Linked DNA regions of Homo sapiens: region 2 is linked to region 1. The links are contacts of gene promoters, found by promoter capture Hi-C in human tissues and cell types (Jung and others, 2019). All regions are on one chromosome and are shown on one strand. The core of a region is centred on a gene start or on the middle of the fragment in contact, and the rest is flanking DNA. Distances in the headings are between cores, read along the strand shown. Region 1 holds the start of GPATCH3 (G-patch domain containing 3). Region 2 overlaps WDTC1 (WD and tetratricopeptide repeats 1).

Region 1 (5,616 bases), core at 1,451-3,950:
AAGCCAGCTTTTTGCACTTAAAAAGACTGTAGCTATGAATATTTATATATACTGTGAAATAAAAAACAAATCCAGGCTTGGTAAGGAGAGATTTTATTATAATTTTTTTTTTTTTGAGACAGAGTCTCGCTCTGTTGCCCAGGATGGAGTGTGCAGTGGTGTGATCTCAGCTCACTGCAACCTCCGCCTCCTGGGTTCAAGCGATTCTCGTGCCTCAGCTTCCCTGAGGAGCTGAGATTACAGGCGCATACCACCATGAGTGGCTAATTTTTGTATTTTTAGTAGAGACGGGGTTTCACCATGTTGGCCAGGCTGGTCTCGAACTCTGGACCTCAAGTGATCCGCCCACCTCAGCCTCCCAAAGTGCTGGGATTACAGGCATTAGCCACTGCGCCCAGCCATTATAATTTTTTTTTTTTTTGAGACAGATTCTCATTCTGCTGCCCACCGAATGCATGGCACAATCATGGCTCACTGCAGCCTTGCTCTCTTGGGCTCAAGTGATCCTCCGACCTCAACCTCCCGACGTGCTAAGATTACAGGTGTGAGTTACCACACCCTGCCAGGAGAGATTTTATTTGAAAGGATTATTGCAAGGGAAGAAAGGAACTATTGCAATAGAAGGAGGAAGAATATTGCAGCAGGGAGGACCCTCTGACCATAATATCTGCAAGTGACTCAAGGGTTAGGCAAAAAGGGTTCTTCTCTCATACAGAGGAGTAAACAGGGCAGAACTGGGTGGGAGGAAGTGGGATGATCAGGAGTGGCATGATGGGACAGTAGATCAGATAATGCTTTACCTTGAAGCCAGCCTATTCTCAGGAGAGGCTGTTAAGGAGGAGATGTGCGCTGGCTCAAGCTGAGGGTAAGCCAAAGTTCGGGAAGCTGGGGGAAGGAGAGAAGTTTTAACCAAAGTTTGTTCCAACTGATCAGTGGGGACAAGAAGTTCCTCAAAGCTTTCATGAGGAGATTTGGAATATGGAGTCTGTGTCTGGCTTTGTCATTGGTGAACCAGAGGGGCATACACCAGTCTTACCTAACTCACTTGGGGAAGGATGTTTTTTTGCAATATGCTGTGTTCCAGAACACAAAACAGTGGGAAGGCATTTCTTAAGCCTTAGTTTTCCAGGATCACAGGGCTTGGGTAAAAGTCAACATTATCAATAAGTCTTCTGATAAACATGTGCAGTCATTTTTTTTATTGTTTAGACAAGGGTCTTGCCAACTTGGCCAGGCTGGTCTCAAACTTCTAAGCTCAAGGGATCCTCCTACACCAGCTTGCCAAAGTGCTGGGATTACAGGCGTGAACCACTGAGCTTGGCCCTTTATTTTTTGCTTTTGTTTGAGGTCTCTCAATCTACAGGTTCCTCCTATCACCCAGTATAATGTGTAGACTTTGTCTGAATTATGAATCAATGAATCAATAGTAATCAAATAACCCAATTAAAAAACGTACAAAGAGGGCCGGGTGCGGTGGCTTACATCTGTAATCTCAGCACTTTGGGAGGCCAAGGCGGGTGGATCACCTGAGGTCAGGAGTTCGAGACCAGCCTGACCAATATGGTGAAACCCCGTCTCTACTAAAAATACAAAAATTAGCCGGGCGTGGTGGCACGCACCTGTAGTCCCAGCTACTCGGGAGGCTGAGACAGGAGAATTGCTTGAACCCGGGAGGCGGAGGTTGCAGTGAGCCGAGATCGCACCATTGCACTCCAGCCTGGATGACAGAGCGAGGCTCCATCTCAAAAAAAAAAAAAAAAAAAAAAAAAGACAAAAAGGCGGGGACCGTGGCTCACACCTGTAATCCTAACACTTTGGGAGGCTGAGGCCAGTGGATCACTTGAGCCCTGGAGTTCAATACCAGCCTGGGCAATGCAGTGAGACCCCATCTCTACAAATAGTTTAAAAAATTAGCCAGGCATAGTGGGTTGCATCTGTGGTCCCAGCACTCCAGCCTGGGCGACAGAGCGAGACCCCAACTCAAAAATAAATAAAATATTACCTACAAGTGCTGAGTCAAATGATGTGTAGCTTTGCTTTTACTAGATAACGCCAATTGTTTCCCAAAGTGGTTGTATCAACTTACATTTCCACCAACAGTGTATGAGAGCTTCAGTTCCACCATGTTGTCATCGACTCTAAGGTTTTAAAGTTTGCCAACATAGTGGATGCAAAGTGGGTCTCGCTGCATTTCTTTTATTATTGAGTTGTGCATCTTTTCTTTAACGTAAGCCTCTAGTAACTCATAGCACTTTCATTGTAAATTGGACCTGCGTGTTTCCTCTTTTGCGAAGTATCTTCGGCCCATTTTTCTACCGGGTTATCTTTTTCTTACCGATTTGTGGGAGTTCATCAACACATTTTGGAAAAATAAATGGAAGAACGACTAAAGGTTCAGAACTGAGGAAGGTTGAGATTAGGTGTGCAATATCCACAACTAAATACCTCAAAAATGACCCCTCCCGCAGGCTTCTTATTTGGTCCTCATGAGAGCTTTATGAAAGAACTCTATGACCCCATTTTCCAGGTGAGTTTTTCCATCATCGCCGGCTTCCCTCTGTGGGAAAGGAACACAGAAGACTTCGGATCTTCCAGCTCCAGGTTCCACAACCCCAATCCCAAAGGACTAGTTAGAATTTTCACAATCTCGCAACGCAGGGGCTGGAACGTTGCTCGCGGTGTTCTCGCGAGACTTGGTTCTAGCTGATCATGTGACAATCCAAGATGGCGGTGCCCGGCGAGGCGGAGGAGGAGGCGACAGTTTACCTGGTAGTGAGCGGTATCCCCTCCGTGTTGCGCTCGGCCCATTTACGGAGCTATTTTAGCCAGTTCCGAGAAGAGCGCGGCGGTGGCTTCCTCTGTTTCCACTACCGGCATCGGCCTGAGCGGGCCCCTCCGCAGGCCGCTCCTAACTCTGCCCTAATTCCTACCGACCCAGCCGCTGAGGGCCAGCTTCTCTCTCAGACTTCGGCCACCGATGTCCGGCCTCTCTCCACTCGAGACTCTACTCCAATCCAGACCCGCACCTGCTGCTGCGTCATCTCGGTAAGGGGGTTGGCTCAAGCTCAGAGGCTTATTCGCATGTACTCGGGCCGCCGGTGGCTGGATTCTCACGGGACTTGGCTACCGGGTCGCTGTCTCATCCGCAGACTTCGGCTACCTACGGAGGCATCAGGTAAGAGTGAGAAAGTTAATAGACTGGGCCTACGGGCCTGGAACAGAGGCACCTTTTCAGAGGAGTGGTGAGGATAAGTCAGGCCTCTGGTTAGGACTCTATGAGTTTAGTTCATATTCTAGACAGAGCTTCAGGCTCAACTTGCAGGGAGTTAGTCCAATACATGGAGAAAAATAAACCGGAGAGGCTTATTCGGAAGAGCCTTCATTTTGTTAGGTCCCTTTTGAGACCCTTTCTCTATCCAAGGGGTTGATTTTGCACTAACACAGAAAGAAAAAAGGAAATCCAGTCTCTAACCCTTTTACTGTCTTTCTCTCCTGCTCTCTCTGTGCTTCCTACCCAGTCCTTTCAGTAAGATACAAATGAAGAGACAATCTTTTCTCTGGACAGCTCCCACTTTCATGGGAAATCAGTTTGATGGGGAAACAGGACAGTGCAGAGCCCTCCAGTTCACACATTCAACAAATGCTTACATTGCTAGACCTAGTGTGACTAGCTGGGTATGCAGAGAACAGTTGGACATAGTGTGTGCTCAGAATCCACAAAGGAAGACATTTGGAAAAAGGTTATTGCCACAGAGATGTCATTCTAATTGTTAGCATTCACTGAGCACTCTGTATTTAGTAGGCGCTGTTCTAAGCCTTTTGTTTTCTTACCCCTCTCAACAGTCCTATGAGATAGGAGCTGTTGTTTCTCCCATTTCATAGGTGAAGAAACTGAGGGAAGCCGAAGTTATGTGACTTGCCTGAGGTTACAGAGTTAGTTAGTGTCAGAGCTACAACAAACCTAGGCATCTGTTCCAGAGCCTATACTGTTTATCACCAAGTGCTGTGAGATGACAGAGAAGGGAGAAACTAACTTCCTAGATGGATCATGAAATGTGGCTTTCCATCTGGGTCTTGAAAAATAAATAGGAGTTAATAGGAGAGAATGGTGTTTCTGGGTTTCAGGGTAAATGGCGTTTGCAAAGACACAGCTTTGAAAGCCCGTGAAAAACTTTCAGGGCATGTTAAATTGTTCATTGTGGGCTGGGTTGCAATGGCTCGTGCCTGTAATCCCAGCACTTTGGGAGGCACAGGTGGGTGGATCTCTTGAGCTCAGGAGTTCCATACCAGCCTGGGCAACATGGTGAAACCCTGTCTCTACCAAAAATACAAATTAGCCGGTTGTGGTGGCGCATGCCTGTAGTCCCAGCTACTTGTGAGGTTGAGGTGGGGGGATCACTTGAGCCCAGGAGGTGGAGGTTGCAATGAGTCAAGATCGCGCCACTGTACTCCAGCCTGGGTGACAGAACGAGACCCCATCTCAAAAAAAAAAAAAGAAGAAAAAAAAGAAATTAGGAGAAAAATTGTTTGGTGTGGCTGGAACACATCGTATGAAGACATGCAGGAGGTGGGAGTTGGTGACAGCCGAGAATCAAAAGGTCATCAGGTGGGTAGATATCACTTGAGGCCAGGACCAGCCTGGACAACATGGCGTAACCCTGTCTGTACTAGAAATACAAAAATCAGCCAGGCATGGTGGCACATGCCTGTAATCCCAGCTACTTGGGAAGCTGAAGTATGAGAATCACTTGAACCCGGGAGGCGGAGGTTGCGGTGAGCTGAGATTGCACCACTGCATACGCCAGTCTGGGTGACAGAGTGAGAATCTGTCTCAAAAAAAAGAAAAAAAAAGTTCATCAGGAGCCAGAGCTGGAAGAAACTTGTATGCCCAGCCAAGGTGATGAGAAGTGACATGAAACTACTAGGTAGTTCTGTAGTTCCGCTTGGGGAGAGATGAAAAGACCTGGAGAAGTTTGAGAGGGAGGAACAGCATGAGGCTAATGGATTTATTTTATTATTTATTTATTTATTTTTGAGACAGGGTACTCTGTCGCCCGAGATGAAGTGCAGTGGTGCAATCTTGGCTCACTACAGCCTCACCTCCCAGGCTCAAGCAATCCTCCTGCTTCAGCCTCCCAAGGAGCTGGGATCACAGGGTGCACCACCACTCCCAGCTAATTTTTTTATATTTTGTAGAGATAAGGGTCTCACCATTTTGCCCAGGCTGGTCTTGAACTCCTGAGCTCAAGCAATCCTCCTGCCTCAGCCTCCCAAAGTGCTGGGATCACAAGCGTGAGCCACTGTGTCGGCCTAGATTTTTACTAGGGATTTACTAGATGTTTACTAGGGAAAGGCTAACAGATTTAAACATTGGCCAATTTCTGGCTCAAGTGTTGCTGGAGGCTTCTGGGTTTCAAGATCTATTCTCCCTCCTTTCCAAGGTCTGGGCTCCTTTCCCTTCAAGACCCGGAAGGAACTGCAGAGTTGGAAGGCAGAGAATGAAGCCTTCACCCTGGCTGACCTGAAGCAACTGCCGGAGCTGAACCCACCAGTGCTGATGCCCAGAGGGAATGTGGGGACTCCCCTGCGGGTCTTTTTGGAGTTGATCCGGGCCTG
Region 2 (5,711 bases), core at 1,153-3,652, 340 kb before region 1:
AGGAAGAGGATCAGAAAAAATAACTATTGAGTACTAGGCTTAGTACCTGGGTAACAAAATAATCTGCACAACAAACCACCATGACATGAGTTTACCTGTATAAAAAACCTGCACAAGGCTGGGCACAGTGGCTCACATCTCTAATCCCAGCATTTTGGGAGGCTGAGGCAGGTGGATCACTTAAGGTCAGAAGTTCAAGACCAGCCTAGCCAACGTGGTAAAACCTCGTCTCTACTAAAAATACAAAAATTAGCCAGGCGTGGTGGCAGGCACCTGTAATCCCAGCTACTCGAGAGGCTGAGGCAGGAGAATCGCTTAAACCCAGGAGGCAGAGGTTGCAGTGAGCTGAGATCATGCCACTCTGCTCCAGCCTGGGCAACAGAGGGAGACTCTGTCTCAAAAAAAAGTTTAATTAATTAAATAAATAATAATGCAGAAATAGGCTGGGTGCGGTGGCTCACGTCTGTAATCCCAGCACTTTGGGAGTCCGAGGTAGGAGGATTACTTAGGCCCAGGAGTTTGAGGCTGCAGTGAGCTATGTTTGTGGCACTGGACTCCAGGCTGGGTGACAGAGTGAGACCCTGTTTCGAAAAAAAAAAAAAAAAAAAAATGGCTGGGCGTGGTGGCTCACGCCTGTAATCCCAGCACTTTGGGAGGCCGAGGTGGGCAGATCACCTGAGGTCAGGAGTTCAAGACCAGCCTGGCCAACATGGTGAAACCCCATCTCTACTAAAAATACAAAAATTAGCCGGGCGTGGTGGCGGGCACCTGTAATCCCAGCTACTCAGGAGGCTGAGGCAGAAGAATCGCTTAAACCTGGAAGGCGGAGGTTGCAGTAAGCCCAGATCGTGCCATTGCACTCCAGCCTGAGTGACAAAGCAAGACTCAGTCTAAAAAAAAAAAAGGAAAGAAAACACATGTCCATACAAAAAGCTGTACATGAATACTCAGAGCAGCATTATTCATAATAGCCCAAATTAGAAACAACCCAAATGGCCATCAATTGATGAATAAATATAATGTGTTAATATCCACTGTAATGGAATATTATGCAGCCATAAAAAGGAATGAGGTACTAATTCATACAACAACATGGAAGAAACTTCAAAACATTCTGCTAAGTGAAGGAAGCCAGTCACAAAAGACTACATGTCGTATGGTTCTATTTATGTGAAATGTCAAGAATAGGAAAACCTACAGAGACAGAAAGAGATGGGAGTGTTGGGGAGGAATGTGATAGCTCAAGGGTATGTGTTTCTTTTTTAGGTGATGAAAATGTTTTGGAATTAGATAGTGGTGACAAGTTGCACAACTTTGTGACTATATTAAAACCAATGAATTGTATAATTTAAGAGACTGTCTATTTTATGGTACGTGAATTATATGTCAATAAAGAAGAAATACCTTAAACCCTTTGCTCTCTCAGTCTATTCTGCCGTTTGTAAAATGAGAGGTGGACTCTGAGATAAGCTACAAAACCCCTTCCGATGACACTATGCTGAGATTTTAAGTAGACACTACTGGTTAGCAGCAGACCAGAGATGGAACCTAAAACATCTGTATTCTCTTTCCTCTGGACATGCTACCTCCCATAGCATGTCCCATAGGATTACAGTGGCTCATGCCTGTAATCCCAGCACTTTCTGGGAGGCCAAGGCGGGTGGACCAGGAGGTCAGGAGTTCGAGACCAGCCTGGCCAACATGGTGAAAGCTCGTCTCTACTAAAAATACAGAAATTAGCTGTGCATGGTGGCAGGCACCTATAATCCCAGCTACTCGGGAAGCTGAGGCAGGAGAATCGTCTGAACCCGGGAGGCGGAGGTTGCAGTGAGCCGAGATTGCGCCATTGCACTCCACCCTGGGTGACAGGGCAAGACTCTGTCTCAAAAATACAAACAAACAAAAAAAAAAAACCAAAAAAAACCCTTTCTTTTCTCTACCTCAAAATCACAGGTTATGGAAAGAAAATTCCATTCTTAGCCTTTCCTTCATCTGTCTCCTACCTTGAGCTGTGGTTATTTACGTGGCTTCTCTTTCTTAGAAGATTAAAAGCATGCTGAGGGCCTGCTCTTCATCCGATTCATCCATTGATCCCACTGGTCTTCCAGGAGTGATGTAAGCTTAGCAGGCACCAATAAATATTTGCTGAATGAATAATGGCATGACTGCCTTACACACAATGTTTTATACCTATCAAAGCACTTTTGTTCAAGCTTTTAATTTGAACTTTGCAACAATCCTTTTAGGAAGTTAGAAAGCTAATATAACGCTGCTATGAATAATGCTGCTATGAATATTCATGTACGATAATAATCCCCATTTAACAAGGGAGAAGTGAAGCAGAATACTACATGGTACTGAGGAAGAAGCACTGGACTGGGAGATCTAGGGTCTTGTGCTCCAAGCCAGCCTCTGCCTTTAACTGGCTGTATGACCCTGAGTGAGGCATTTTGCTCTCTCAGTCTATTCTGCCGTTTGTAAAATGAGAGGTGGACTCTGAGATAAGCTACAAAACCCCTTCCGATGACACTATGCTGAGATTTTAAGTAGACACTACTGGTTAGCAGCAGACCAGAGATGGAACCTAAAACATCTGTATTCTCTTTCCTCTGGACATGCTACCTCCCATAGCAGAGACGTGCCCCCAACCAGGGTGACAACTGACCCCCTTTCAACATTCTGAATTATGCAAAGATGTATGCAAGTTTCCTTTCACTCTATTTATAGTGGTTCTATTGGAGCAATCCTACAAAAAAGATGAAAGATGCAACGAAGCAAGGACTCAACTTCACTTTCAATGCATAAAGGTCATTGGAAATAACATAAGGCCAGGTGTGGTAGCTCATGCCTGTAATCTCAGTGCTTTGGGAGACCGAGGCAGGAGGATCACTTGAAGGCCGGGAGGTCGAGAGCAGTCTGGGCAACAGAGTAAGATCCTGTCTCTATAAAAAAGTTTTTTAAAAATTAGCCAGGCATGGTGGCACACTCCTGTAGTCCTAGCTACTAGGAAGGCTGAGGCAGGAGGGAGGAGGGAGAATTGCTTGAGCCCAGGAGTTTGAGGCTATATTGAGCTATGATTGTGCCTCTGCACTCCAGCCCGTGTGACAAAGTGAGGCGCTGTCTCAAAAACAAAACAAAACAAAAGAAAGAAAGAGCATAATAAAATGAAGAGTGTAGCTGTGGACCTAACAGATCTTAGGTTCAAATCCCAGTTCTGACACCTATTTTCTGTCTGACTTGACATTTCTTTTAAATTTTTTTTTCTTTTCTATACCTCTTACGTCTCTTCATCTTTTTAATTTTTTTAAAAAAATTTTTATTTGTTTTGAGACAGGGTCTGGCTCTGTCACCCAGGCTGGAGTGTGGTAGCATGATCTCAGCTCACTGCAACCTCTGCCTCCCGGGCCCAAGAGATCCTCCCATCTCATCAGCCTCCCGAGTAGTTGGGACCACGGGCATGCACCACCCACACACACCTGGCTAATTTTTGCATTTTTTTTTTTTTTTTTTGTAGAGATGGGGTTTCACCATGCTGCCCAGGCTGGTCTCGAACTCCTGGGCTCAAGCGATCTGCCCACCTCAGCCTCCCAAAGTGTTGGGATTATAGGCATGAGTCACCATGCCAGACCCTGACTTGACACTTCTAAACCTTAGTTTCCTAATCTGATAATACCTACCTCTGCAGGGTGAGGAGGAACAGAAGCGCTTGCATGTAAAATGCCTGACACTGATCCTATTAAATAATATTTATTGAACATTCTAACAGTTTACAAGTGTCATCTCACAGACTCCTCATAATAATCCTATGAGACAGGTGCTATTGTTATCCTCATCTTACAGATGCAGGATCTGAGGCACAGAAAAGTGAAGTTGCCAAAGCTACACAGTTCTTAGACAGAGAGTCAACCTATACAGTCTGACTCCAGGGGCCAGGCCATTGGCCACTAAATAATAATTACTGGGCCGGGTGTGGTGGCTCACACCTGTAATCCAGCACTTTGGGAGGCCAAGGCGGGCAGATCACTTGAGGTCAGGAGTTCCAGACCAGCCTGGCCAATGTGGTGAAACCCTGTCTCTATTAAAAATACAAAAATTAGCCGGACATGGTGGCAGGCGCCTGTAATCCCAGCTGCTGGGGAGGCTGAGGCAGGAGAATCACTTGAACTCAGGAGGCAGAGGTTGCAGTGAGCCAAGATCGAGATCATGCCACTGCACTTCAGCCTGGGTGACAGAGTGAGACATTGTCTCAAAAAAAAAAAAAAAAAAAAAAAAAATTACTGGCCAGGGAGCAGCGGCTCACACCTGTAATATCAGTATTGATACAATTTCAGGAAGCTGCTGAAACTTTGTCTCTTACCATTCCTTAGGGTTAAGCTGCCTTGACTCTGCTGATCTCAAACACAAATTTAAAGAGTGCCATTTCAAGGTCATGGACTAAGTTGGTACAAGGACAGTTTCTGGGAAAGCTTTCGCTGGTAGGATAGACTCATCACCAAAGCATCTTCAGGAAACTTCTTAGCCATCTTTGAGGCTCCTGGCTTAAATAATCCCATGTAGGACTGCTTGAGGTTTTCTCTGCAGAAGAGAGCTGCTTCTAAGCAATGCTTTACTTTCTGGGAAGCTTTAGATAAAAACTCACCTTGATGTCTTCTCCCCTGCCCAGTGGGCTCCGTATTGCTGTTTGAGCTTTTAAGAGACAGGGTCGCCTGGGTGCGGTGGCTCACGCCTGTAATCCCAGCACTTTGGGAGGCCGAGGTGGGTGAATCACCTGAGGTCAGGAGTTTGAGGCCAGCCTGACCAACATGGTGAAACCCTGTCTCTACTAAATACAAAAAATTAGCCAGGCGTGGTGGTGCATACCCGTTATCCCAGCTACTCGGGAGGCTGAGGCAGGAGAATCACTTGAACCCGGGAGGCAGAGGTTGCAGTGAGCCGAGATTGCACCATTGCACTCCAGCCTGGGCGACAGGAGCGAAACTCCGTCTCCGTCTCAAAAAAAAAAGAGACAGGGTCTAGCTCTGTTCCCCAGGCTGGAATGGAATGTAGCACTATCACAGTTTACTGCAACTTTGAACTCCTAGGCTTAAGGGATCCTCCTGCCTCAGCCTCTTGAGTAGCTAGGATTACAGGTGCAAATCACCATGCCTGGCTACTTTTATTTTTATTTTTTGTAGAGATGGGGGTCTCATCATTTTGCCCAGGCTGTTCTTGAAGTCCAGGCCTCAAACAATCCTCCCATCTCACCCTCCCAAAGTGCTAGGGTTACAAGTGTGAACCATCTGGCCAGGCACGGTGGCTCATCCCCGTAATCCCAACACTTTGGGAGGCCAAGGCAGGAGGATCACTGGAGGTCAGGAGTTGGAGACCAGCCTGGCCAACATGGTAAAACCCCGTCTCTACTAAAAATACAAAAATTAGCCAGGCGTGATGGCACACGCCTGTAATCCTAGCTACTCAGGAGGCTGAGGCAAGAGAATCGCTTGAACCCAGGAGCCTGAGGCTGCAGTGAGCCAAGATTGCACCACTGCACTCCATCTTGGGTGACACAGCGAGACTCTCAAAAAAAAAAAAACAAAAAAAAACAGTGTGAGACATCACACCCAGCCACTTGTTTGAGCTTTGTGAAAATTTTTTCTGGATGTTTTCAGAACTTTGTTTTCCAGTGATCATAGCTAATTTTCCTGTCTGCTCTTAGGCCTCACAATTACCTT

What was found. The method cuts DNA at HindIII sites, captures the fragments that hold promoters and counts their contacts. A contact is called where the count stands out against the background at its distance.
Region 2: a contact is called between a fragment that was not itself captured here and the fragment with the promoter of GPATCH3 in region 1, in 1 of the 25 tissues and cell types used here (IMR-90 fibroblasts).

What each region holds. Positions count from the first base shown.
Region 1 is chr1:26,897,551-26,903,166 of GRCh38, reverse strand. GPATCH3 (G-patch domain containing 3) reads left to right here and starts at 2,700. Exons shown (of 7, transcript NM_022078.3): 1 at 2,700-3,175; 2 at 5,442-5,616. The coding sequence starts at 2,725. It also overlaps a transcript of NUDC not described here. RefSeq lists an enhancer at 2,636-2,755. The HindIII fragment of the contact is 3,671 bases long and covers 422-4,092 here.
Region 2 is chr1:27,241,762-27,247,472 of GRCh38, reverse strand. The region is part of intron 1 of WDTC1 (WD and tetratricopeptide repeats 1); the gene reads right to left. Among named protein-coding and RNA genes, the nearest start is that of WDTC1, 10 kb to the right of the region's middle. The HindIII fragment of the contact is 4,284 bases long and covers 261-4,544 here.